Regions from separate parts of the Homo sapiens genome. Here regions 2, 3, 4, 5 and 6 are each linked to region 1. Evidence: promoter capture Hi-C in 16 types of primary human blood cells and fetal thymus (Javierre and others, 2016). All regions are on one chromosome and are shown on one strand. Each heading gives the region's core, a stretch centred on a gene start or on the middle of the fragment in contact. The rest is flanking DNA. Distances are from core to core; before and after follow the strand shown. Region 1 holds the start of CD99 (CD99 molecule (Xg blood group)). Region 2 has its middle 44 kb from the start of ASMT. Region 3 has its middle 44 kb from the start of LINC02968. Region 4 overlaps ASMT (acetylserotonin O-methyltransferase). Region 5 overlaps P2RY8 (P2Y receptor family member 8). Region 6 overlaps AKAP17A (A-kinase anchoring protein 17A).

The links. Contacts are between HindIII fragments. The CHiCAGO score rates a contact against its expected background, and 5 or more counts as called.
Region 2: a contact is called between a fragment that was not itself captured here and the fragment with the promoter of CD99 in region 1, in 14 of 17 cell types (non-activated CD4 T cells, activated CD4 T cells, monocytes and 11 more). The highest score is 26.8, in non-activated CD4 T cells.
Region 3: a fragment that was not itself captured here is called in contact with the fragment with the promoter of CD99 in region 1 in 7 of 17 cell types (neutrophils, naive CD8 T cells, naive CD4 T cells and 4 more); the score reaches 10.8 in neutrophils.
Region 4: a contact is called between a fragment that was not itself captured here and the fragment with the promoter of CD99 in region 1, in 7 of 17 cell types (M0 macrophages, naive CD4 T cells, naive CD8 T cells and 4 more). The highest score is 8.4, in M0 macrophages.
Region 5: a fragment that was not itself captured here is called in contact with the fragment with the promoter of CD99 in region 1 in 5 of 17 cell types (activated CD4 T cells, non-activated CD4 T cells, M0 macrophages and 2 more); the score reaches 7.7 in activated CD4 T cells.
Region 6: a fragment that was not itself captured here is called in contact with the fragment with the promoter of CD99 in region 1 in 13 of 17 cell types (non-activated CD4 T cells, activated CD4 T cells, naive CD8 T cells and 10 more); the score reaches 14.6 in non-activated CD4 T cells.

The regions. Positions count from the first base shown.
Region 1 is chrX:2,689,667-2,693,934 of GRCh38, forward strand. CD99 (CD99 molecule (Xg blood group)) reads left to right here and starts at 1,629. Exons shown (of 10, transcript NM_002414.5): 1 at 1,629-1,761. The coding sequence starts at 1,695. The HindIII fragment of the contact is 9,076 bases long and covers 1-4,268 here.
Region 2 is chrX:1,657,231-1,661,316 of GRCh38, forward strand. No RefSeq gene overlaps it. Among named protein-coding and RNA genes, the nearest start is that of ASMT, 44 kb to the left of the region's middle. RefSeq lists enhancers at 68-569, 570-1,069. The HindIII fragment of the contact is 3,904 bases long and covers 877-4,086 here.
Region 3 is chrX:1,685,760-1,690,119 of GRCh38, forward strand. No RefSeq gene overlaps it. Among named protein-coding and RNA genes, the nearest start is that of LINC02968, 44 kb to the right of the region's middle. The HindIII fragment of the contact is 3,492 bases long and covers 829-4,320 here.
Region 4 is chrX:1,616,666-1,621,131 of GRCh38, forward strand. All of the region lies in intron 1 of ASMT (acetylserotonin O-methyltransferase), which reads left to right. Among named protein-coding and RNA genes, the nearest start is that of ASMT, 3.8 kb to the left of the region's middle. RefSeq lists an enhancer at 1,845-2,482. The HindIII fragment of the contact is 4,661 bases long and covers 1-3,835 here.
Region 5 is chrX:1,492,795-1,497,493 of GRCh38, forward strand. All of the region lies in intron 1 of P2RY8 (P2Y receptor family member 8), which reads right to left. Among named protein-coding and RNA genes, the nearest start is that of P2RY8, 42 kb to the right of the region's middle. The HindIII fragment of the contact is 650 bases long and covers 1,639-2,288 here.
Region 6 is chrX:1,592,076-1,596,282 of GRCh38, forward strand. It overlaps AKAP17A (A-kinase anchoring protein 17A), which reads left to right. Exons shown (of 5, transcript NM_005088.3): 2 at 1,369-2,149; 3 at 3,309-3,457. The coding sequence starts at 1,388. Among named protein-coding and RNA genes, the nearest start is that of AKAP17A, 2.6 kb to the left of the region's middle. The HindIII fragment of the contact is 2,741 bases long and covers 635-3,375 here.

The sequences.
Region 1 (4,268 bases), core at 379-2,878:
AATATGTTAGAGTTGGACTCCTTTCTCTTTTTTTCTTTTTTCTTTCTTTTTTTTTGAGACGGAGTCTCGCTCTGTCACCCAGGCTGGAGTGCAGTGGCCTGATCTTGGCTCACTGCAACCTCCATCTCCCCGGTTCAAGCGATTCTCTTGCCTCGGCCTCCTGAGTAGCTGGGACTACAGGTGCACACCACCACACGCGTCTAATTTTGTATTTTAGAAGAGACAGGGTTTCACCTTGTTGGTCAGGCTGGTCTCCAATTCCTGACCTCAGGTGATCCACCCGCCTCGGTCTCCCAAAGCGCTGGGATTCCAGGCGTGAGCCACCGCGCCCGGCCTAGTTTGACTCTTTTCGTGGACAGTTTGAAGTGTGGAATGCAAGAATATTCAGGGTTATTTGTCAGGCTGCAAAGTTGTTCCACTACCCTGCGGGAAAATGGATACAATTTTAGGCTTAGGTGTTAACAGATAACATTGTTAAGTGTGGGAAGGGCGACAACTGCACTGCAGCTGTGGCCAGTGGCGCGGGAGGGTGTCTAAACTCAAAGCCCACTGGAAGGCGAGTCGCCCATGACCAGGACTAGGGCCCAGGTGCCCCAGATAGAAGGCACCTCGTTCCCTATTGCCCCTCACTAACTCCCGTGACCAGGAGTCCCCACTCCCAACCTTGTCCTGGGGATTCTGGGGAGAAACTGCCCCAGCGCAGAGGCTACTCCAAGGGTTGTCCTTGGTCCGGCGCAAAGGGTTCGTCCGCCACCCTCCCGGCTGCGCACCCCGCGCTCGGACGCTCTAGAAAGGACTTGGGACGGGGGTTGCCTGTGGAGCGGGGGCCTAGGCTTCCTGAGCAGGGAGAGGATTGCACTTTGCTCCCCTTGGGGAACTCCCTGAGGTGAGCAGCGGGGAGGGGCCCCCATACTTTTCCCAGCAGGGGAGCCGGGAGTTTCCTCTGCTCCCACTGCAGAGCAGGGGAGGGTCCCTGCTAGGGGCGGAGAAGGGGCTGCAGGGGCGAGTGGGGAGGGGGGCTACACGTTTCCAAGAAGGGCGGCAGTTTCGTGTCGCTACAGTTGCAGGCGTGCATTTAGGAGGCTGTAGACAGGGAGGGACCCGCACTTTCCCGAGCAGGGGAGCTGCTGGGAAAGTTTGTTTTTTTGCTCCCACTGGAGACCAGGGGGTGAGGGGCGGAGAAGTGGCTGCAGGGGCGAGTGGGGAGAGGGGGCTCTATGTTTCCAAGAAGGGCGGCAGTTTTGTGCCACTACAGTTAAGGGCCGCCCTCGGGCGTGCATTCAGAGGGCTGTAAACCGGGAGGGACCCGCACTTTCCCGAGAACGTTGTAGTTCACTTTGCTTCGGGTCGGCGCCGCCCTGGCTACGGCCCTGTGGGTGGGTGAGGGGGCGTGGGCAGTTTCCTGAGAAGGGGCGGGGCGTGTACCGTACTCCCCTCGGCGCTGCCTGGGCCACCCCCGCCCGCCTACCCCCTCTGTCTCCTCCCCGGGCCCGGCGTTCCCGCCCCTTCTGTGCGCGCGTGGAGGCCGGGGCGGGGCGGGCGCAGCCGGCGCTGAGCTTGCAGGGCCGCTCCCCTCACCCGCCCCCTTCGAGTCCCCGGGCTTCGCCCCACCCGGCCCGTGGGGGAGTATCTGTCCTGCCGCCTTCGCCCACGCCCTGCACTCCGGGACCGTCCCTGCGCGCTCTGGGCGCACCATGGCCCGCGGGGCTGCGCTGGCGCTGCTGCTCTTCGGCCTGCTGGGTGTTCTGGTCGCCGCCCCGGGTGAGCGAGCGGAGGGATCCGGGTTGGGGGACGCGGAGGGCGCGGGCCGGGACTGGGGATCCGCTTGAGATGCGGCGTTGGGGGCGCCCCGCGGGGACACCCGGAGCCTCCTCCCTGCCCGGCAGGACGCGCTGTGCCCACGGGGGCCCAGGCCCGGAGGAGGCGCCCACTTTCTCCCCAACGCTTTTCCTGGAGCCGTTCCAGAGAGAAAAGTCAGCGTTTGTTGTCGGAGTTGCAAACTCTTACATGTGGGGCGGCCTTGGGAGAGGTGCGTCCGATTTTTCCCAATCTAGGGGACCTTCTTACAGATCTCTCTCCCTTTGCATGAGCCCCTCACCCCACCCCGTTATCTACCCCCAGGGTTTGGGGACCTGCGTCTTCAGGCCGCGCGCGGAGGCCGCCCTGGAGTTGCCTGTCACAGCCACGCCCTGCGTCCCGGGCCTAAATTTGGAATCGCTAGGAGCCTGAGACCCGGGTGGTGGGGGGAAGGGAAGGAAAAGTTAGAAAAAAACTTTGAGCCCTGAAAATGTTCAAAAATACTCTGTGGATGCGGGCTCCGGGAATTTCAGCGCGTGCTGTGCGCCAAGCAACACGGGGCGCAGAAAGAAACGTGTGCTTACCAAATTGTCCATCTGCGGCGGTGGAGAATTCGGAAAACAGAAAAAGTGGGCAGGGAAGAAAGAGCCACGGTCACCCTCCCACGCCCTAAACCGGGCCTATTTCTAATTATTACTTTAATCATGTTTTTCTGTTTCCCTCCCTTTGAAACGGAAACGGAGACCCTGCCGGATGTGGTATGTTATAAATTCTTTTTTCATGTTATAAATTCTTTTTTCAATGGTCAGTGCATTTTTTGCTCTTCGTATGGGCAGGCTTTTAAGTAGACCGGCTTGCGGGCAGTGTGGACTTCAGGACGGGCCTTATCAGGGCTGGACGTATTTAGGAAGGAGACGCGGGAACGCCCGGCCCTGGGGAGGACGGAGGAGGCCCGATTTGTGTTGATAGGATCTAGCTCAGCCTAGAGCTGCGGTGACTAGGCCGGGTCTCTATTTTTAGGGAGGAGTTGCTAATGGATTTACACCCTCTTTAAAGGGGTCCCGGGTATCCTAGAAATTGTGCTTTCACTTGGTAGAGATTAGAGATAATGAAGCCTGCTCCGTAGAGGAAAACTTGGAGGACTTTCCAGCCTGCAGGGGAGGTTCCAAGCAGAGCTTCCTGTTTCTCCCTTTTCTTCCTAAATGTCCTTCTTGCGGGCAACCTGTCACCACGGACGGGATGGCTCTGTAGGGTTTTATCAGCTGCATTTGTTCCCCAGGCACCTGCAGATGAACGGGTTTTTCACTTGTCTCTCTGCGAATGCATTCCTTCATCCTTCATGCCTGCCTTCCTTCTTTTGCACCTACTGTGGGCTTGGGGTCAGGGAAATATATCCAAGGGAGTGCTGGTGGCCTAAGAATTCAGTTTCCTGGAGAACAGAGGCATCTGAACAGGCAGACGGGAGACAGGGCCACAGGGACCTTTATAGTTCCATCACGAAATAACTCAGGGGTTCCCAGTGGTAAATCTTGGTGAGGGGCTTGGCTGGATTTTGAAGCCCTAGGGACAGATTTGCCGGCTGGTCTGGCGTTCCAGGTCATTGGAGCAGAGTGAGTGGAAAGCCTTATATTCTCTAAGCCCCAAACAAGTCGTTGCACAGTTTTTTTGTTTTTGTTGGTGGTGGTGGTTTTTTTTTTTTGGACGGAGTTTCACTCTGTCACCAGTCTGGAGTGTAGTGGCACGATGTCGGCTCATTGGCGTTGCACAGTTTTTAAACCCACAGCAGTGTTCATCTGGAACTCCTGATTTTGGAAGCAGACTGGGCTTAGGAACTCCAGCTGCTGATGCTTTGAGTAAAGGGAAGAGTACCTGTCTATGGGGTGGGTGGGTAGGGAAGAGCAGTGGGATAGGGGCATAACAGGGGCCAACCTATCCTTCCAATTGCAGAGGAGGGCCTGGCCGTCAGCACTGATGGATCTCCTTGAGGGACGCTTCTCACCCCTTCTTTGCAGTCTGACCCTGCTAGAGATGGAGACAGAAACAGCCTGTCCCAATAATATTAATACACGTTTCATCGGGAAAGTTGACTTTTGAGTTGGTGATGCTCAGAACACACTTTCTTATAGCAACGTGCATCAGGCTGCAAAACCCCGTTGAGCCTGAAGTAGGTTCTCAGACTGGTGCTGATAGCTCTGGCCTGATCTCAGAGTGTTGGGGACCCTGTGTTCCTTGGTTCCTTCATAAATTCTCAGGGGTACAGGTGGGATGTGGTGAGGGATGGATGGACAGAGGGAGGTGTATAGAGGAAAAGAGGAGGCTTCAGCTTTGTAGAGAGCAGGATGTCCCCACAGGGCGACGTTGGCCCCGAGGAGACACTTTGTGATGGTTGCAGACATTTTTGGTTGCCACCCTGGGGTGGGACATCCCACCATCCTGCAATGGGTGGGGCAGCTTAGGGAAGCTGCTCAGAA
Region 2 (4,086 bases), core at 1,579-4,078, 1.0 Mb before region 1:
AGAGAAAAGGTTGTATTCTTTTGAGTCCTTGATAGCCTCTGACTGAATACATCATGTATTAGTTTGGTGTAGAAGTAACGGAGTGAAAACAAAAACAACAAAACAACCACCACCACCACCACAACAAAAAACACCCAGGCACAAAAGTGCAAAATGGCACAATATCATTTGCATGAAGTGTCTAGAATAAGACTGCTTGCAGAGTCAGAGAGCAGATGGGTGATTGCTTAAGGCTGAGAGCAGGGAGACTGGGGAGTGACGGTTTAATGGGTATGGGGTGTTTTTTTTTGGGTTACGAAGGTGTTCTGGAACTAGCTAGGGCCGGTGGTTGTGTAAAATGCTCAGTGCACTAAATCGTCTCTTCATTGTGCAATTTTTAAAATGGCAAACTGTGTGTGATGGGTATTTTCCCACAGTAAGAAACAGCAGCAGCACAAAGGGAGGTGATAACTCACGTCATATCACACCCTGCAGGCCCCATCACCCTTCCTCCTTCCTCTGTTCACCTCCTCCTCCTTTTCCGGGCTCTGCAGACGAGCCCGGGCAGCCCTCCCCGCTGGCCGTCTGGACCCAGGCCTGCCTGTCTTGGGTGCATTTTAGGACATTAAGTCTGGCTGGAACCTGAGAGCATCAGCCATGCGGTAAGTCCCCACATCCCTCCAGCAGTCTGGGAGGGGAGCTCTCTCCTTTGCTTTTGTACACTCTGGAGAAAATTGTCAGGCAGCAGACATGAAGAGCCTCTGGGGAGATTCAGTGAGGGCTGGCAGGCAGGTGTCCAGGAGCCTGAGTGACTCACGAGAGAAAGGACATATTCCTTAAAGACAAATTCATCAACGGATTGGTTTAAATAATTCCTGCTCAGCACATCCCAAATTAAGCTTCGTCATCAGACACTGCATCTGTTGCCTTTTCTAGAAACATGAGCTCTAAGCTCAGTGACACCGTCTGTCAGGGTTTCAACGTTTCACCTCCCCCCTCCAGGGGAGCCGGTTTCCATACACCAAAGCTCTCCAAGGTCCAGTTGTGAGGATGGGGAACGCTGGCTGTCTGGTGACGGCCTTTCCAAAGCTGCCCTGTCCTCTTGCATTAAGAAAGATTAGTTTGTACTCCGGGAGGAGAGGCGCAGAAGGTTAACAAGATTAGAGAGAGCTCCTGAGACCTGCGGTGAGATTCCCTGAGGGATGTGGCTAATAAAACTGTAAAAACAACGCAGGCGGTGTCTCTCACCGCCGGGTCCTGATTTCAGGGCCGCAAATGTCTACCTCTTCTAGGCAGTTTGCTACCTCAATAATTTAGGTTGTCAGTTGTGGTATCCAAGCCCCAGCACACTTTTTTGTTTGTTTGTTTGTTTGTTTGTTTTGCAGTTTGCAGGTGATAGTTTCTAAAGATGTGTTTTTCTATTTTTCTTTCTTTCTTTCTTTTTTTTTTTTTTTTTGAGACAGAATCTCACTCTGTCGCCCAGGCTGGAGTGCAGTGGGGCGATCTCAGCTCACTGCAAGCTCCGCCTCCCGGGTTCACGCCATTCTCCTGCCTCAGCCTCCCGAATAGCTGGGACTACAGGCGCCCGCCACCACGCCCGGCTAATTTTTTGTATTTTTAGTAGAGACGGGGTTTCACTGTGTTAGCCAGGATGGTCTCGATCTCCTGACCTCGCGATCTCCCCGCCTCGGCCTCCCAAAGTGCTGGGATTACAGGCATGAGCCACCACGCCTGGCTAATTTTTTGTATTTTTAGTAGAGACGGGGTTTCACTGTGTTAGCCAGGATGGTCTCGAACTCCTGACCTCGTGATCCGCCCACCTCAGCCTCCCAAAGTGCTGGGATAACAGGCGTGAGCCACCGCGCCCGGTCTATTTTTCTTAACTAAGAAATGTGTATGTGTGTGCATATGGTTGTGTGGCTGGTAGAGGTGGAGAGCTTCAGGAATGTGTGTATGCGTGTGTGTTTCTGCGTGTGTCTGTGTATGTGTTTGTGTGTTATCTTTGCTTGTGATTATGTTTGTGTCTGTACATATGTGTGTGTCTTTGTGGATGTGTGTTTGTATATGTATGGCTGTCTGTGTGTGTTTGCCTCTTTGTGTATGCATGTGAATGTGTGTGTTTATATTTGTGTATTTATGTCTGTGTAAGTGTATTATGTATTTGCACATGAGTGTGTTTCTGCATGTGTATATTTGGGTGTCTGTGTGTGTGCATGTGTGTGTATATGCATGCTAGTGTGTGTGCAGTTGTTTGTGTATGCATTTGTGCATATGTGCATGTGTGCATTTGTGTGTGTAGATATGGATATGGATGAGCGTGTATATTAATGTCTGTATGCATTTGTGTGTATGTGCATGTGTATATTTGCGTGTGTAGATATGGATATGTATGAGCATGTATATTAGTGTCTGTATGCATTTGTGTGTATGTGTGCATATGTGCATGTGTGCCTTTGTGTGTGTACATATGGATATGTATGCACGTGTATGCTGGTGTCTGTATGCATTTGTGTGTATGTGTTTGTGCATGTGTATATTTGGGTGTGTGTAGATATGGATATGTATGAGTGTGTATGCCTGTTAGTGTCTGTATGCATTTGTATTTGTATTTGTGTATGTGAATGTGAGCATTTGCACATGTGTGTATACGTGTGTCTGCATGTGTGCATCTATGTGTGTGCGTGTATGTGCAAGTGCGTATGTGTATAGGCACATGCTGATTTGTGTGTGTGAGAGGAGGGGCACAGGCAGACACTCTCTGTGTGGTCCCAGGTGAGGCCTGGTGGCAACGAGCCTGGTGCGTTCAGCCCTGGGTGGATGTGGTAGCGGAGGGAACAGCAGGGCAGCGTCCGAGGTGTGAAAAAGCACAACCTGCCCCGAGAGAGCCCTGCGCTCTGGGCCATCTCGGCTTCTTGGGCCATAGGTACATTCCTCACAGGTGACCTGAGTGTGGAGGAAAGGCCGTCTCTGCAGGCCAGGGGGCTCGCTGGTTAGTGCTCACACCCAGAGTGCACCCGGACGGCACCAGAGATCTTCCTACCTCCCAGGAGCCGTTGCACGATCTCCGGGCATCGCCACCCCCGACCTCGGGCACCACGAGACTCCATTTACAGACGGGAAGCGACCTGGGGCTGACCTTGATAAAACCCCTGTCCGGCCTCGATGGGTCTGAGCGGCAGGTGCCATTGTCTTCCCAACAGCGGCGTGTGTGACCCAACACGAGTTCGGGAATGCGAACAGTCTCCTCTCCGAGCTTCGCAAGCTGTTTTAGCACAAACTCACTGCTCAGCAGACTTCTTTGAACAAGGAGTCTTCTTAAAAATGACCCTTAAGCCTGTAATCCTAGCACTTTGGGGGGCCGAGGCGGGCGGATCGCTTGAGGTCAGGAGTTCGAGACCAGACTGGCCTACATGGAGAAACCGCATCTCCACTGAAAAATACAAGAATTAGCCAGGGTTGGTGGCGCATGCCTGTAATCCCCGCTACTCAGGAGGCTGAGTCAGGAGAATCGCTTGAACCCGGGAGTTGGGGGTTGCAGTGAGCCGAGATTGCACCATTGCGCTACAGCCTGGGCAACACAACGAGCCTCTGTCTCTAAAATAAAATAAGATAAAAAGTAAAATAAAGTAAAATGAAATATAAATATAATAATAAAAATGTAATAATAATATAATAATAATAATATCTGCCTACATAGGTCAGTGTACAGGCGGCGAACTGACTTCTTGCTCCGTGGCGTCAGAGCCTTGGAGAAAAGGAGGGTCACTGAGAAGGGGGGGCGGGTCAAATGAGAAGAAAACGCCAGGGAGGCTGATGCAAATCCCAGACCTCAAGGAGCAAGGGAGGGGCTGTTCTATCAAGTCCTGACGCCCAGGGCTAAAGGTAGAGGAGAAGGAATCCGTTCTTTGCCTTCTTTCTCTTCCCGCCCCCTAGCCCCTGCGCCTGGACCCCATTGGCTGAGCCCTGCTGAAGTCACCCAGCCAGGGTGACGCCAGTCAGAGCCAGGCAGATGTCAATTACACAGGGCCTTCTCTGTCTTCCCGCCCCCTAGTGCCTGCACCTGCTCCCCATTGGCTGAGCCCTGCTGAAGTCACCCAGCCAGGGTGA
Region 3 (4,360 bases), core at 1,325-3,824, 1.0 Mb before region 1:
AAGGTGCCTGCCTTGGGAGGGATGGCCCAACAGAGCTGCTGATGGATGAGAGATTTCAAAGAAAGAAGAGAAGGCAGACGGCTGGGTTTCATTTTCCCACACGTCTGTGGACATCTTGAACGCCCGGTGTGAGTCATGGGTGACGGTTTATTCTGGGACAGTATTGCATTCTTTGTCTGGGCTCTATTTCCACATAATTACCTTCTTTCATTGTCCACTTTGTTTTTGAGCATTTGAGATTTCCGCTACAGTAACACCATGGCACGTGCCAATTTTTAGAATTATTCTTGGGGTGTGTTATTTCTCCAGGGATTTTGGGGTTTACAAAAAACTCGAGGGAGTGTATTTTCCCTGCCTCTTTTATTTAACGGTGGAACTATTCAGAGCAGCATAGAACACGAATGTCCAACAATCATGGACTGGATTAAGAAAATGTGGCACATATACACCATGGAATACTATGCAGTCATAAAAAATGATGAGTTCATGTCCTTTGTAGGGACATGGATGAAGCTGGAAACCATCATTCTCAGCAAACTATCGCAAGGACAAAAAACCAGACACCGCATGTTCTCACTCATAGGTGGGAATTGAACCATGAGATCATATGGACACAGGGTGGGGAGCATCACACACTGGGTACTGTTGTGGGGTGGGGGGAGGGGGGAGGGATAGCATTAGGAGATATACCTAATGCTAAATGACGAGTTAATGGGTGCAGCACACCAACATGGCACTTGCATACATATGTAACTAACCTGCACATTGTGCACATGTACCCTAAAACTTAAAGTATAATAATAATAAAATAAAAATAAAAAAACACGAAGCTTTCTTGGCACTTCCCAAGAGTGGATTTAACTCTTCTCCTGGGACAGCAGGGACCACCAGCCCACAAAGGAGGACTTATTATCTCCACTTCAGTCTTGCCTGAAAATCTGCTCTAGTTTTGAACAACATCAGAGCTAAACAAATCAGAAAGAATGTGATTGTTTTGGTCGGGTGTTCTCCGGAAGAAGCTATTGCCTCCTCCTGTGAATGCCAGCTGGGCAAAATATTCCTAAAGCATCTCACAAATTCATCAGTGGTTTCTGCTCTTGGACAGCTATTTTCTTTGATGATAAAGACTTAGGCAATGCATGGAATTCTAGATGTATTAATATATACTCAGACAAGCACTGAACAGACTTTGCTTTCCTAGTTAAAATCTAAGTGATACAGGTACAATCAGCTGCCTGTAATCCCAGCTCTTTATAGGCTCATGCCTGGAATCCCAGCACTTTAAGAGTCCGAGGTAGGCAGATCACCCAAGGGCAGGAGTTCGAGACCAGCCAGGCAAACATGGAGAAACCTTGTCTCTACTAAAAATACAAAAATTAGCCGGGCATGGTGGTGGGTGCCTGTAGTCCCAGCTACTCGGGAGGCTGAGGCAAGAGAATTGCTTGAACTTTGGAGGCCAGGTTGCAGTGAGCCGAGATCACACCACTGCACTCCAGGTAGGCGACAAGAGGGAAACTCTATCTCTTAAAAAAAAAAAAAAAAAAGGCTGGACATGGTGGCTTATGCCTGTAATCCCAGCAGTTTGGGAGGCCGAGGCAGGCAGATCACGAGGTCAGGAGTTCGAGACCAGCCTGGCCAAATGGTGAATCTCTCTCTACTAATAGTACAAAAATTAGTCAGGCGTGGTGATGGGCACCTGTAATCCCAGCTACTCAGGAGGCTGAGGCAGGAGAATCACTTGAACCCAGGAGGCAGAGGATGCAGTGAGCCAAGATCGTGCCATTGCACCCCAGCCTGGTGACAGAGAGAGACTCCATCTCAAAAAAAAAAAAAAAAAAACCCAGGTGCGGTGGCACCTTGGGAGGCTGAGGCAGGTGAATCACTTGAGGTCGGGCATTCGAGACCAGCCTGGCCAATGTGGTGAATCTCTGTCTTTACTAAAAACACAAACATTAGCTGGGCATGGTGGCAGGTGCCTGTAGTCCCAGCTACTTGGGAGGCTGAGGCAGGAGAATTGCTTGAACCCAGGAGGCCAGGTTGCAGTAAGCCGAGATCGTGCCACTGCACCCCAACTGGGGGACAAGAGTGAAACTCCGTGTCTTAAAAAAAGACACAAATAGTGGACTTGGGGCTCACCCTAATCCATGATGTTCTCATCCCTAACTCCTTAACTAGATTACTTCTGCAAAGAGTCTTATACCAAACGCGGTCCCATTCTCAGGTTCTAGGGGGTTAAGCCATACTCATATCTTTTTGAGGAGACACCGTTGAATGGACTGAATTGTACTGCTCCCCAAATTCGTTTGTGGAGCCGTAACATCCAATGTGATGATATTTGAAGATGAGGACTTTGGGAGGTACATAGAGTTACTCGAAGTCGTATGTGAATGAATTATATTTTGTTACTTCACTCTTCTCTCGATGGACAGATTGTAGATTTTTGAGTAGGGCACTCACATGCGTTTCACTAAGGTTTTTAAAAGATCCCTTTACAGCGGTGTCAAGAGTAAATTATAAGCCAGGTGCGGTGGCTCACGCCTGTGATCCCAGCACTCTGGGAGGCCGAGGCGGGCGGATCACTTGAGGTCGGGAGTTCGAGACCATCCTGGCCAACAAGGTGAAACCCCATCTTTACTAAAAATACAAAAATTAGCCAGGTGTGGTGGTGCGCACCTGTAATCCCAGCACTGTGGGAGGCTGAGGCAGGCAGATCACCTGAGGTTTGGAGTTCGAGACCAGCCTGGCCAACATGGTGACACCCCGTCTCTACTAAAAATACAAAAATTAGCCAGGTGAGGTGAGGTGGTGCGCACCTGTAATTTCAGCTACTCGGGAGGCTGAGGCAGAAGAATTGCTTGAACCCAACAGGCGGAGGTTGCAGTGAGCCGAGATGGTGCCACTGCACTCCAGCCCGAGTGACAGAGTGAGACTCTGTCTCGGGGGGAGGGGAGGGGGGAAAGTAAATTGTGGGGAACAACTGTGTAAGCCGGTAGGATAGGAGATGGTTGCAGGAATGCGGGTCAGGAGATAGTGACATGGAGTTAACAAAGGAGGTGGTACAGAGTGCTTAGTTCTGAATTTTTTGAAATTCTTGAATGAGTTTCTTACGGGGGTAAGGTATACGTAACCTAAAATTTACCTGTTTTGGCTGGGCGCGGTGGCTCACGCCTGTAATCCCAGTACTTTGGGAGGCCAAGGCGGGTGGATCACGAGGTCAGGAGATCGAGACCATCCTGGCTAACGCGGTGAAACCCCGTCTCTACTAAAAATACAAAAAATTAGCTGGGCATGGTGGCGGACGCCTGTAGTCCCAGCTACTCGGGAGGCTGAGGCAGGAGAATCGCTTGAACCCGGGAGGCGGAGCTTGCAGTGAGCCGAGATCACGCCCCTGCACTCCAGCCTGGGCAACAGAGTGAGACTCCAGCTCCAAAAAAAAAAAAAAAAATTTACCTGTTTAACCATTTTTAGTTACTTATTTATTTATTTTGAGAAGGAGTCTCGCTCTGTCACCCAGGCTGGAGTGCAGTGGCGTAATCTCTGCTCACTACAACCTCCGCCTCCTGAGTTCAAGTGACTCTCCTGCCTCAGCCTCCTGAGTAGCTGGGACCAGAGGCACAGATGGGGTTTCACCATGTTGGCCAGGATGGTCTCGATCTCCTGACCTTGTGATCCGCCCATCTTGGCCTGCCAAAGTACTGGGATTACAGGCATCAGCCACTGTGCCCGGCCATTTATTTATTTATTTATTTATTTTTCAGTTTTCCCTAAGGTAATTTATTTTTTATTTATTTTTTATTTATTTTTTTTAATTTTTTTTTTCTTTATTATACTTTAAGTTTTAGGGTACATGTGCACATTGTGCAGGTTAGTTACATATGTATACATGTGCCATGCTGGTGTGCTGCACCCATTAACTCGTCATTTAACATTAGGTATATCTCCTAATGCTATCCCTCCCCCCTCCCCCCACCCCACCACAGTCCCCAGAGTGTGATATTCCCCTTCCTGTTATTTATTTATTTTTTGAGAAGGAGTCTGGCTCTGTCACCGAGGCTGGAGTGCAGTGGCGCGATCTCGGCTCACTACAACCTCCGCCTCCTGGGTTCAAGTGATTCTCCTGCCTCAGCCTCCTGAGTAGCTGGGACTACAGGCGTGTGCTGCCGTGCCCGGCTAATTTTTGCATTTTTAGTAGAGATGAGTTTTCACCATGTTGGCCAGGCTGCTCTTGAACTCCTGTTTTTAACCTTTTTTAAATGTACAGTTCAGTAGCATTAAGGACATTCTCATTATTGTGCAGTTTTCACCACCCTGCACTTCCCAAGCTTGTTTATCTTCCGCAACTGAAACTATGTCCTCATGA
Region 4 (4,466 bases), core at 255-2,754, 1.1 Mb before region 1:
TCGAGACCAGTCTGGGCAACATAGTGAGACCCCCCATTTCTACAAATTCTTTTTTCTTTTTGAGACAGAGTCTCGCTCTGTCGCCCAGGCTGGAGTGCAATGGCACGATCTCGGCTCACTGCAAGCTCCACCTCCCAGGTTCACGCCATTCTCCTGCCTCAGCCTCCCGAGTAGCTGGGATTACAGGCACCCGCCACCACGCCCGGCTAATTTTTTGTATTTTTAGTAGAGACGGGGTTTCACCGTGTTAGCCAGGATGGTCTCGATCTCCTGACCTCATGATCCGCCCGCCTCGGCCTCCCAAAGTGCTGGGATTACAGGCGTGAGCCACTGTGCCTGGCCAAAAATATTTTAAAAATTAGCCAGGTGGGGTGGTGCACACCTGTAGTCCCAGCTACTCAGGAGGCTGAGGCGGGAGGATCGCTTAAGCCTAGGAGATGAAGGCTGCAGTGAGCTATGATTGCACCACTGCACTCCAGCCTGGATGACAGAGCAATACTGAGTCTCTTTAAAAAATAAACGGCAGGGCGCGGTGGCTCATGCCTGTCATCCCAGCACTTTTTGGGGTCCAAGGTGGGCGGATCACTTGAGGTCAGGAGTTCAAGACCAGCCTGGCCAACATGGTGAAACCCCGTCTCTACTAGAAGTATAAAAATTAGCCAGGCATGATGGTGGGCACCTGTCATCCCATTTACTCGGGAGGCTGAGGCAGGAGAATTGCTTGAACCCGGAGGAGGTAGAGGTTGCAGTGAGCCGAGATTATGCCACTGCACTCCAGCCTGGGTGTCGCAGTGAGACTCTGTCTCAGAACAAAAACCAAAAACCAGCATCATCGTGAAAGGGGGTCGTGTGCTGACGATATTTTGAGATGTCTGCAGCAGCTCTCGTGTGACTTGAAAATATCTGTGGTTTCTCTCCGTCAGCAAGCCACCGGTTTTTTTTGTTTGTTTTTTTCCTTTTTTTTTTTCAGACAGAGTTTCCCTCTTGTCGCCCAGGCTGGAGCGCAGTGGCGCTATCTCGGCTCACTGCAACCTCTGCCTCCCGGGTTCAAGCGATTCTCCTGCCTCAGCCTCCCGAGTAGCTGGGAGTACAGGCGCGTTCCAACACGCCCAGATAATTTTGTATTTTTAGTAGAGATGGGGTTTCTCTATGTTGGTCAGGCTGGTCTCGAACTCCCAACCTCAGGTGATCCTCCTGGCCCCCACACTTTCTTCTATCATGGCTGTGGTTTGCCAGTACGCTCATGGTTGAAGGGAACACCACATCTTAGGAAGAGGTAGTGAAAATTAGAGTGAAGTCTCTTCTCCTTCCTGGTTTGTAGAGCCCGTGAATTTTACCTCTAGGCCCCCAAGGGTTAAAAATACCTATTCCCCAGCCACTGATACGCAGAGCGGCCTCCGCCTACGGGGTTCAAGCGATTCTCCTGCCTCAGCCTCCTGAGTACCTGGGATTACAGGTGCCTGCCACCAAGCCTGGCTAACTTTTATTTTTATTTTTATTTTTATTTATTTTTCTGATATGGAGTTTCACTGTTGTTGCCCAGGCTGGAGTGCAGTGGCATGATCTCAGCTCACTGCAACCTCTCCCTCCCAGGTTCAAGCAATTCCCCTGCCTTAGCCTCCTGAGTAGCTGGGATTTCAGGCGTCCACCACCACGCCCGGCTAATTTTTGTATTTTTGGCAGAGACGGGGTTTCATCATGTTGGCCAGGCTGGTGTCGAACTCCTGACCTCGGGCGATCTGCCTGCCTCGGCCTTCCAAAGTGCTAGGATTACAGGTGTGAGCTACTGCCTCTGGCTAATTTTTTGTAGTTTTGGTAGAGATGAGGTTTCATCATGTTGGCCAGGCTGGTCTTGAACTCCTGACCTTGGGCAATCTGCCTGCCTCAGCCTCCCAAAGTGCTAGGATGACGGGCGTGAGCCACTGACATCCAGCTAATTTTTTGTATTTTTGGTAGAGACGGGGTTTCATCATGTTGTCCAGGCTGGTCTCGAACTCCTGACCTCGGGTGATCTGCCTGCCTCAGCCTCCCAAAGTGCTAGGATTATAGGCATGAGCCAACATGTCTGGCTAATTTTTCTATTTTTTAGTAAAGGTGGGATTTCTGTTACTGTCCCAGACAACAGTAACTTGCTACCTTTGCCTCCTTTGACCGCAGGCCTCCTGCTGGGGCTATTGACTGCTCATTCAAAGACTGTCGCTGGTTCACAGCGGTGTTCAGGGAGGTGGTCTGGTGGGTTCTAAATCTTGGAAGAGCAGTCACTTTAAGGCACATGATACCATGTCATGGGAGTTGTCAGAAGTTTCACAGAACCAGAGTTAATGCAGAGTTAATACCACCTTAAGAGGATCAAACTTAGTACACCCTTAACAGAAACAATTAGCTAATGCAGCTTTCATAGACCAAGAGTGAATATCGCCTTAAGAAGATAACATTTAGTATACCCTTGGCCAGGCACAGTGGCTCACGCCTGTAATCCCAGCACTTTGGGAGGCCGAGGCGGGCGGATCACAAGGTCAGGAGTTCGAGACCAGCCTGGCCAATATGGTGAAATCCCATCTCTACTAAAAATACAAAAATTACCTGGGCGTGGTGGCGGGCACCTGTAGTACCAGCTACTTGGGAGGCTGAGGCACGAGAATGGCGTGAACCCGGGAGGTGGAGGTTGCAGTGAGCCGAGATCACGCCACTGCACTCCAGCCTTGGGGGCAGAGCGGGACCCTGTCTCAAAAAAAAAAAAAAAAAGTGGGGGCTGGGGAGGGAGAGCACTAGGACAAATACCTAATGTAGGTGACGGGTTGACAGGTGCAGCAAACCACCATGGCACATGTATACCTGTGCAACAAACCTGCACGTTCTGCACATGTACCCCAGAACTTAAAGTATAATAATAATAATAATAATAATAATAATAATAATAATAAAAAGTCTTTGGGAGCAGAAAAAAAAAAAGATCAAAGTTAGCGTACCCTTAACAGAAACAGTTAATGCACCTTTCATAGACCAAGGGTGAACTCAGCCATAAGAAGGTAACATTTAATATATGCCCTTAAAAGAACAATTAATTGAGACAACCCCAAAAGGAATGAATACAACTTTAATGAATAAAACAAAACAGAACGCTAATTTAAAAAGGTTAATACGGGCCGGGCGTGGTGGCTCATGCCTGTAATCTGAGCACTTTGGGAGGCCGAGGAAGGTGGATCAGGAGGTCAGGAGATTGAGACCATCCTGGCTAACACGGTGAAACCCCGTCTCTACTAAAAATATTTTAAAAATTAGCCGGGCGTGGTGGTGGGCGCCTGTAGTTTCAGCTACTCGGGAGACTGAGGCAGGAGAATCCCTTGAACCCGGGAGGCGGAGCTTGCTGTGAGCCGAGATCGCACCACTGCACTCCAGCCTGGGTGACAGAGCCAGACTCCGTCTCAAAATAAATAAATAAATAAATAAATAAAAAAGAAAAAGGTTAATACAACATTAAAGAACAAGAATTAATATAGCTTTTTTTTTTTTTTTTTTTTTTTGAGACCTAGTCTCACTCTGTTGCCCAGGCTGGAGGGCAGTGGCATGATCTCAGCTCACTGCAACCTCCGCCTCCCGGGTTCAGGCGATTCTCCTGCCTCAGCCTCCCGAATAGGTGGGATTACAGGCGTGCACCACCATGCCTACTTTTTGTATTTTTAGTAGAGACGGGGTTTCACTATGTTGGCCAGGCTGGTGTCGAACTCTTGACCTCAAGTGATCTGCCTGCCTTGGCCTCCCAAAGTGCTGGGATGACAGGTGTGAGCCACTGCACCTGGCCTAATATAGCTTTAATAGAAAAGGAGCTAATACAAGCTTAGAATAATAAACTTTATGCAGACTTACTGAAACAAACAGTCAATGCAACCTTAACCAAACAGGAATTGATAACAGTTTAATAAAAAAGCTAATACCACTTGAATAGAATATATCTTACTACAACCTTCATAAGAAAAACAACTAATACACTTTGGGAGACCGAGGCAGGCAGATCACGAGGTCAGGAGATCGAGACCATGGTGAAACCCCGCCTCTACTAAAAATACAAAAAAATTAGCCTGGCATGGTGGCGGGCACCTGTAGTCCCAGCTAGTCGGGAGGCTGAGGCAGGAGAATGGCTTGAACCTGGGAGGTGGAGGTTGCCGTGAGGCGTGATCGTGCCACTGCACTCCAGCCTGGCGACAGAGCGAGACTCTGTCTCAAAAAAATAATGATAATAATAATAAACAAATAAAGATACCAAAAAAAAAATACAAAAATTTAGCCGGGTGTGGTGGCACGTGCCTGTAATCACAGCTACTCGGGAGGCTGGGGCAAGAGAATCACTTGAACGCGGGAGGCGTAGGTTGCCGTGAGCCGAGATTGCACCGCTGCACTCCAGCCTGGGTGACAGAGCGAGACTCCGTCTCAAAAAAAAGAACAAACAAAAAGATAGTGGTAGGTGT
Region 5 (4,699 bases), core at 714-3,213, 1.2 Mb before region 1:
CTGCCCTGGGCTGAGACATGGTTGTTTCAAAGGCAGTCACGTATCATTCATCACTAATTCCCCAGTGCAGTGGTTCAAGGCTAACGAGCAGCACTCAGCGCCCACCTCTGCCTCTTTCTGGTTGTAGGTCTTGAACACACCCCCGCCTCCATGTCTGCCTCAGTTTCCGTTACTGGTAAAACAGGGATGATTGTAACAGCACCTGTCTCACGAAGTTTCGAAAATCCCAGAGATCAGGCCAGGCGCACTTTGGGAGGCCGAAGCGGGTGGATCATGAGGTCGGGAGTTCGAGATCAGCCTGGTCAACATAGTGAGACCCCATCTCTACTAAAAAATACAAAAAATTAGCCGGGCGTTGGGGTGGGCGCCTGTAATCCCAGCTACGTGGGAGGCTGAGGCAGGAGAATCACTTGAACCCGGGAGGCGGAGGTTGCAGTGAGCAGAGGTCACGCCACTGCACTCCAGCCTGGGCAACAGTGCGAGACAAGAAAGGAAAGAAAGGAGAGGAGAAGAGAGGACAGGAGAGGAGGGGAGGGGAGGGGAGGGGAGGGGAGGGGAGGGGAGGGGAGGGGGAGGGAGGAAGGAGGAAGGAGGGAGGGAGGGAAGGAGGAAGGAGGAGGAAGGAGGAAGGAGGAGGGAGGGAAGGAGGAGGAAGGAGGAAGGAGGGAGGAGGGAGGGAGGGAAGGAAGGAAAGATCGCAGAGATAAAGCCCTTGTAAAAGTGGCTGCTGCTTCCTCCTCACTCAGTCGACGTGAACTATTTTTATTAGCGAAAAACCAAGAACAACGTCTCCTCCCCACAAAACAAAAGCAAAATAAAAGCCAAAGACAGGTGTGAAGAAGATTTCTGGGAGAGCGCATTTTAAAGAAGGTGGGACTTTCTTCATCCGAGAGCCACCCAACCCAGCATCTCGGCGTGGGCCGGCCTGTACCCCTCGTCAAAGGAACAATTGGCTTGCAAACTGGGAATCTCCGTTAAAACGGACAAGACGATTTTGCTCTTTTCTTGCGGCAACGTCTGAAGATGTGCAAGAAGGGGGTCTGTTTTAGGCCAACCTCAGCCCTCTCTGCGACCCTCGAGAGCTTGTGCAAATGGCACAGCTCCTGCCTGGAGGCTGTGTGTCCTTTTGCAGCACTCTGGTGAGCCCGGGTTAAAAATCACACACCCCAAAGGGAGGCTGAGCTGAGGGCTTTCTCTGGCATTCAGCAGCGTCTCTGGCCTGGATATGCCCTGCTAGCTGGGGTATTTCTGCAGAGCAGCCTCTCCTACCCGAACACTCCCAGGTCCCCGTGACTTACAACGGTGGCTGCAGGGAGGGCAGACGTCCTGGGTGATGCTGGTCTGGTGGTGCTTGTCTGAGCAGCCGTCAAGCTAGGCAGGGGGTCCTGGGGGACCCTCCTCCTGGGCCAGAGGCGGCTGCCCTATGGGAGTGAGCTCCGCACAGGAGCAGGAGTGGAGGGCCAGCTCTCTGCTCTGCTGGGAAAAAAATCCCACTGGCTGTGCCTGCACCGCACCTTGAGACAGACACCAGCAGCCTCCGGAGACCCAGCAAGCTGCTCTTAGCTGCGATCTGTCATCTGCAGACTGAGCTTGGTGCATGGCGGTTATGAAACTGGCCAGAGCAACAATAGATGGAAAAGCTTCCTCTTTTTGGCCCTGGGCCCCAGGGAGCGAGGTCAGGTAATCCGAGGGGGATTTTATGTGTTTTTCTCCTAATGCGGTATTTTTCAATTAGGCTTTAAAAAAAAAAAATGAGTTTGGCCTCCATGTATGCGGGACCATTGCCTCAGAAGGGTTAGTTTAGGATTAGAAAATGGGTTAAACTTAAGGACAGCTTCTCTTGGATATATTGGATATTACTTTATGCTTTATGTGAAAATACTAATTTTTAAAAATATGTATGTCCATAGTCACTATTTGTTTTCTTTTGAGACTGAGTCTCGCTCTGCCTCCCAACCTGGAGTGCAATGGCACCGTCTCCGCTCACTGTCACTTCCTCCTCCCAGGTTCAAATGATTCTGCCTCAGCCTCCCAAGTAGCTGGGAAGACAGGCATACATCACCACACCTGGCTAATTTTTTTTTTTTTTTGTATTTTTTTTTTAGTAGAGACAGGGTTTCATCATGTTGGTCAGGCTGGTCTTGAACTCCTGACCTCAGGTGATCCACCCGCCTCGGCCTCCCAAAGTGCTGGGATTACGGGCATGAGCCACTGCGCCCGGCTGCGTATTCACTATTTAAAAGTAGTCAGTACTCATTGGATGATGCTAAGACAGTTTTTTATTTGGAAGCTTGAGGCTGCAGTGAGCTGAACTGCACTGTACTCACTGTTCGGAACTGAATTGAACTCACACCACTGCACTCCAGCCTGGGTGACAGAGCAGGACCCTGTCTTAAAAATTAAAGGGAGAGCCCTTTATTACAAACAGCGAGCTCAGTATATATTTTCTGAGTGTTGTGTCTGTTACAGGCTGCATTGTACCCTCCCAAATTCATACGTTAAAGTCCTAACCCCTAGGACCACACAATGTGGCTGTATTTGGAGGTTACCTCTTTAAAGAGTTAACTACAGTAAAATGAGGTCACCAGGAGTGGGCCCTGATCCAATAGGACCGGTGTCCTCATAAGAAGAGGAGATGAGGACACAGACACACACAGAGGGACGACACTGTGAGGACACAGGGAGAAGACGGCATCTCCAAGCCCAGGAGAGAGGCCTCAGGAGGAACCAGCCCTGCCCATACCTGGATCTCAGACCTCCAGCCTCCAGGACTGTGGGAGAATCAATGTTTGTTGTTTCTAAGCTGCCCAGTCTATGGTATTCTGGGATAGTCGTTCGAAATGGACAAAGACACCTCATAAGAAGAGGAGATGAGGACACAGACACATACAGAGAGATGACCCTGTGAGGACACAGGGAGAAGACGGCGTCTCCAAGCCCAGGAGAGAGGCCTCAGGAGGAACCAGCCCTGCCCATACCTGGATCTCAGACCTCCACCCTCCAGGACTGTGGGAGAATCAATGTCTGTTGTGTATAAGCCCCCCAGTCTACGGTATTCTGTGACAGCAGCCTGAGATGGACTAAGACACCTCATAAGAAGAGGAGATGAGGACACAGACACACACAGAGAGATGACCCTGTGAGGACACAGGGAGAAGTCGATGTCTCTAAGTCCACAAGAGAGGCCTCAGGAGGAACCAGCCCTGCCCACACCTGGATCTCAGACCTCCAGCCTCCAGGACTGTGGGAGAAACAATGTCTGTTGTTTACAGTCCACCCAGTTTGCAGTGTTTTATTACGGCGGCCGAGCTGACTACCCATCCACTCTGAAGCAGTTGGGAGAAGGCAGACGTCAGAGATGCTGCCGAAACCTAGGCTGAATGGAAGTGAACTTGGGATGCTGCTGAGACCTAGGCTGAATGGACGTCAACTTGGGTACCACTGGCTTCTCCCTGCTGTTGAATCCCAAAGACCATCTCGAGGCCATCTGGAGTCATGCTCCCCCGCCAGCTTCTCAGTAGAGACAGCACGTTACAGGGTGGGAAATGGTTATTCACAATTGTTCAGTGGCTGCCTGCCTTGGCGTTGGGGAGCCACATGAGAAGGCTCACAGCCACAGCCACAGCCCTCCCGGGTGCGACTCCCTGGGATCCTGCCCTCTGCCCTCTCAGAGGGTTTCTCTCTCTCTCCGCTCAGTTCACAGGAAGCAACTTGTCTGCAGTTCCCAAATCTACTTCTTGGAGCCTCTGTCCTCTACTATTTTCCTGGAGGGAACAGGCTGGGAAGGAAGGTGGTGTCCCCTTAAAACATTCAGTCAGCCGCGGCTTCAGACGGAGCAGTCATTTGTAGGTAACTAGGACTTGGGAAGATATTCAACACTGCTTCCTGGGAGTTTTTTTTCTTTCTTTCTTTCTTTTTTGTGAGATGGAGTCTCACTCTGTCTCCCAGGTTGGAGTGCAGTAGCGCGATGTCGGCTCCCTGCAACCTCCGCCTCCCTGGTTCAAGCAATTCTCCTGCCTCAGGCTCCCGAGTAGCTGGGATGACAGGCACCCACCGCACCTGGCCAAGTATTTTTAATATTAGTATTTTAGAAACTCAGTCACTCCGCTAGTAAACCAGTATGGATAGAAATGCAAACATCAGGCCGGGCGTGGTGGCTCACGCCTGTAATCCCAGCACTTTGGGAGGCCGAGGCGGGTGGATCACTTGAGATCAGGAGTTCGAGACCAGTCTGATCAACATGGTGAAACCCTGTCTCTACTTAAAATACAAAAATTAGCCAGGCGTGGTGGTGGCGGGTGCCTGTAATCCCAGCTATTCAGGAGACTGAGGCAGGAGAATCACTTCAACCCGGGAGGTGGAGGTTGCAGTGAGCTGAGATCGCGCCACTGCACTCCAGCCTGGGGGACAGAGTGGGACTCCGTCTCAAAAAAAAAAAAAAAGAAAAGAAAAAGAAAAAAAAGAAACTCAAACATCACAGAGAGAGATCAATGTTTTTTTTTTTAAATAGCATGTTAATTAGGGTTTTCTCTTTTTTTTTTTCAAGACAAGGTCTCACTCTGTGGCCCAAGCTGGAGTGTAGGCCGGGCACGGTGGCTCACACCTGTAATCCCAGCATTTTGGGAGGCCGAGGTGGGCAGATCGCCTGAGGTTGGGAGTTTGAGACCAGCCTGGCCAAGACGGTGAAACCCTGTGTCTA
Region 6 (4,207 bases), core at 755-3,254, 1.1 Mb before region 1:
AGCTCGGGGGATCGGATGGGCGGGAGACTAGGAGGCCTGGGACTAGGGGACGTGGCGCTGCGGTCGCTCCTAGGTCTACAGTGGGAAGCAAGGGGCTGTCCGGGGTTTTCGGAGGCTGGGGCGGTGCTGTGTAGGTTGGGGTATTGGGGCTCATCCAGGAGGGTGGTGGGGAGCGGGGAACTGAGGAGCTGAGGGTACCGAGTGGCCAAGGGCCTGAGAATGTGTGGGGCCCTGCCAGGGGTGCCAGCGGCAGCCTGAGGCCATGCTGGGGGGCTGCGGTAGGTGGGAATACCAGGGGCAATGCCGCGTACTGGGGATTGGGCAGCCAGGTGTACCGGGGTGGTCGGAGGGCGCTGGAGGCCAGAGTGGGGAGGGTTCCTCGGTGGTGAAGTTGCTGGGGCCGCTTGGGTTCTGGGGGAGGGTTCACTGGTCTCTGTCCAGACTGGAGCCCCTCCCTGGTGCCCCACTGACCTTTTCTGGTCGCTTCTCCACCCTCCCTCCCTTCTTTCGCACCTCCCACCTCGGGCTTGGGCGAGGAGGCCGTCTCCTGGGCCTGGCAGGAAGCCTCCAGGTTGATGGGGTGGGCGGCCGGGCCGGAGGCGGTCACCTGAGATGGTTGGGTTTCTGCGAGTGAAGCTTCCTCTACTTGGACTTGGCCGTCAGGAAGTGGCTGCCCGTCAGCTCAGCAGGGAAGAGGTGGGTTAATGAAGGTGGGCGGAGAAAGAAGGCGCAGACGGGGGACTCCGGCCCCTAACTTGTGGAAAGTTCGTTGTACTTTTTGGCTTTGAGTGGGTTAAAGCTGGGATACGTTTGGCCTTCGTGGAGATTACTAGGGTTCATGGTTCTGGATTGTTGTTGCAGCCCGAGACTTCCTGTTTTATCAGGGCAAGTACAGGGCCGCCGCCCCCTCCACAAAACCTTTCCAGATGCCTGCAGCTGTGCTCTCCCTGGCCCCTTCCCTTCCCCAGTGTCTCTCTGCCCCTTCCCGTGGAGCTAGGCGTTTGTAGCGTCCCCGTTCCTACTTGACCTGTGTGAGGGGCCTGGTCGTGCTCAGCTTCCTATTCTGCAGGCCTTGGGAGCTGCTGGCTGCTGGATGTAGGGTGTCGGGCAGTGCTGACCGAGGCTTTGACACTAACCTGTTCTTTATCAGCTCGGCTCTTTCCCCTTTGGTGTACTCTTAATGATTTCAAAAAGTAAAGAACTCCGTTGAGATGGCTGTTAACAAAGTGGAAACCGGTCTCTGACACGGCAGAGAGACACTGCTGTTTCTCTTCTCCGGGTCCAGAAAGTGCCTGCTGGCTTGGCCCCTCCTCATTGGCGGGGGAGGTGGGGGGTGCTGGTGCTGACTGTCTGCGTCTTATGTTTCAGGCCCAAGGTCCCGGAGGCTATGGCAGCGGCTACCATCGTGCACGACACGTCTGAGGCCGTGGAGCTCTGCCCTGCTTACGGCTTGTACCTGAAGCCCATCACCAAGATGACCATCAGCGTGGCACTCCCGCAGCTGAAGCAGCCGGGGAAGTCCATCTCCAACTGGGAGGTGATGGAGAGGCTGAAGGGCATGGTGCAGAACCACCAGTTCTCCACGCTGCGTATTTCCAAGAGCACCATGGACTTCATCCGCTTCGAGGGGGAGGTGGAGAACAAGAGCCTGGTCAAGTCTTTTCTGGCCTGCCTGGACGGCAAGACCATCAAGCTCAGCGGCTTCTCCGACATCCTGAAGGTGCGCGCGGCCGAGTTCAAGATCGACTTCCCCACCCGCCACGACTGGGACTCCTTCTTCCGCGACGCCAAGGACATGAACGAGACCCTGCCGGGGGAGCGGCCGGACACCATCCACCTGGAGGGGCTGCCCTGCAAGTGGTTCGCCCTGAAGGAGTCGGGCTCCGAGAAGCCCAGCGAGGACGTCCTGGTCAAGGTGTTTGAGAAGTTCGGGGAGATCCGGAATGTGGACATCCCCATGCTGGACCCCTACCGGGAGGAGATGACGGGCCGCAACTTCCACACCTTCAGTTTCGGGGGGCACTTGAACTTCGAGGCCTATGTGCAGTACCGCGAGTACATGGGCTTCATCCAGGCCATGAGCGCCCTGCGCGGGATGAAACTCATGTACAAGGGCGAGGACGGCAAGGCCGTGGCCTGCAACATCAAGGTGAGTCCTGGGCACCGAGAGAGCCACGCGCTTCCTCCCTCTGGCGACTTCCTTCCAGCAGGGTCAGCAGAACGCTCCCAGCCACACCCCTGAGGCTGTGGGGACCTCCCCTAAGTAAAATGGCAGCAACAGTCCTGTGCCTGTCCAATTTCAGAGGCACAGGCGTGAGGTGGAGTAGGGGTCCCGTGCTGTGGTTTTGGAAATTTGGTATCTTAAGGAAGATGTGGGGGAGACACAGGTCATATAGTAGGTGAGGGATGGAGCCTCAGGAACTCTGACAGGGATTTGAACCGTGTCAGAACCAAGAGAACCCGGCCTTCCCAGAATGCACCTTGAAACCAGGGCTGAACGTTCCCTTTAGCCTCATGTGCTTTTTTATTTTTTTTATTTTTTTTATTTTTATTTTTTTTTCGAGGCAGAGTCTCGATCTGTTTCCTGGACTGGAGTGCAGTGGCGCAATCTTTGCTCAGTGCATCCTCCGCCTCCTGGGTTCGAGCGATTCTTCTGCCTCAGCCTCCCGAGTAGCTGGGACTACAGGCGCGTGCCATCACACCTGGCTAATTTTTGTATTTTTAGTAGAAACAGGGTTTTGCCGTATTGGCCAGGCTGGTCTCGAACTCCTGACCTCATGAACTGCCTGCCTCGCCCTCCCAAAGTGCTGGGATTACAGGCGTGAGCCACTGCGCTCAGCCTAGCCTCGTGTTTTGACCGTGTTGGCTTCACAGTGACAAATGAGCCAGCCTCCTGGAGGGGGTTTTGTGGCCTTAAGATGTGCCCTGTGGGTGTGGGCAGGCGGCCTGCTCAGTGACTGTGGCCACAGGGAATGGTGGAGCCGGGTAGCGGAAGGGGAGCTGTGTCTCGCAGCGGTGGCGTGTCACTTGTGTTCAGTAAGTGGCGAGGGCTAGTTGGTGTTCCTCGCTGAGTCGTAACTCCGTGGGATGAGCTAAGTCTTGAGCCACTGATGGTGACTTGAAGGGATTGGTTTGGCTTCTGGGCTCCACTGTCTGGGTCTGCACCGGACATGAGTGGTGAGCGGTGAGCGGTGAGCGGGCGCTCAGGCTCTGAGGCCACTCGGCCCTACGGCCCAGGAGAGGGCGCCTGGCCGTGTGTCTGGGGGGTTTTGGGGGAAGGCCATCTGACACTGTTTTTGCTTTTAAAGGTTTCTTTTGATTCGACCAAACACCTGAGTGATGCCTCAATTAAGAAGCGGCAGCTGGAGAGGCAGAAGCTTCAGGAACTGGAGCAGCAAAGAGAAGAACAAAAGCGCAGAGAGAAGGAAGCGGAGGAGAGGCAGCGAGCGGAGGAAAGGTACCTTCTGCGGGAGCGGGCCCTCGGCGCTGGTGTCCGGCACCTGGGAGTGTGCGCAGACCCGTGTGCGTGTGTCTGCATGTATTCCTGTGCGTGTGTGTGTGCATGCATGCTTGTGAGCTTGTGTGTGTACCTGTGTGCATGGACGCACGTGTGCCTGTGAACCGGTGTGTGTACTTTGTATGTCCCTATGTGCGCCCGAGTGTGTGCCTGAGCATCTGTGTGCACGTGTGCCTGTGTGTGCGTGCATGTGTGTGAGCTCGTGTGTGTACCTGTGTGTGTATGTGCACGTGTGCCCACATGTGTGTGCTTCTGTATCGGCACATAGCACACATGTGCCTGTGTGCATGCGTGTGTGCCTGTGAACCCGTGTGTGTACTTGTGTGTGCACGTATGGGTGTGTGTGCAGGCCTGTGGGTGCTCAGCTGTGCACGTGAGGACCTGCGTGAGTGGCTGTTTGAGACGCAGCAGAATATGAATGTTTCTCTTTTTCTTGTCACACGTCGTGGTCTGACACGATCTCTGCCGGCTCCCAGGACCGCGCCTTGCCCGAAGAGCCACCTCTTCTCCCTCCACATGCTGTTCACACCTCCCGCTGAAACAAGCAGAATGCCTTGGCTGTTTGCAAGTTTGCATTTAGGTTGAGGCTACATTTACAAAATGAAGTAGAGGGTTGATGGTGATGGCCAGATTTAAAAAAAAAAAAAAAAACAAAAAACCAATGATAGGACAAAAACCCGGTTTCACATA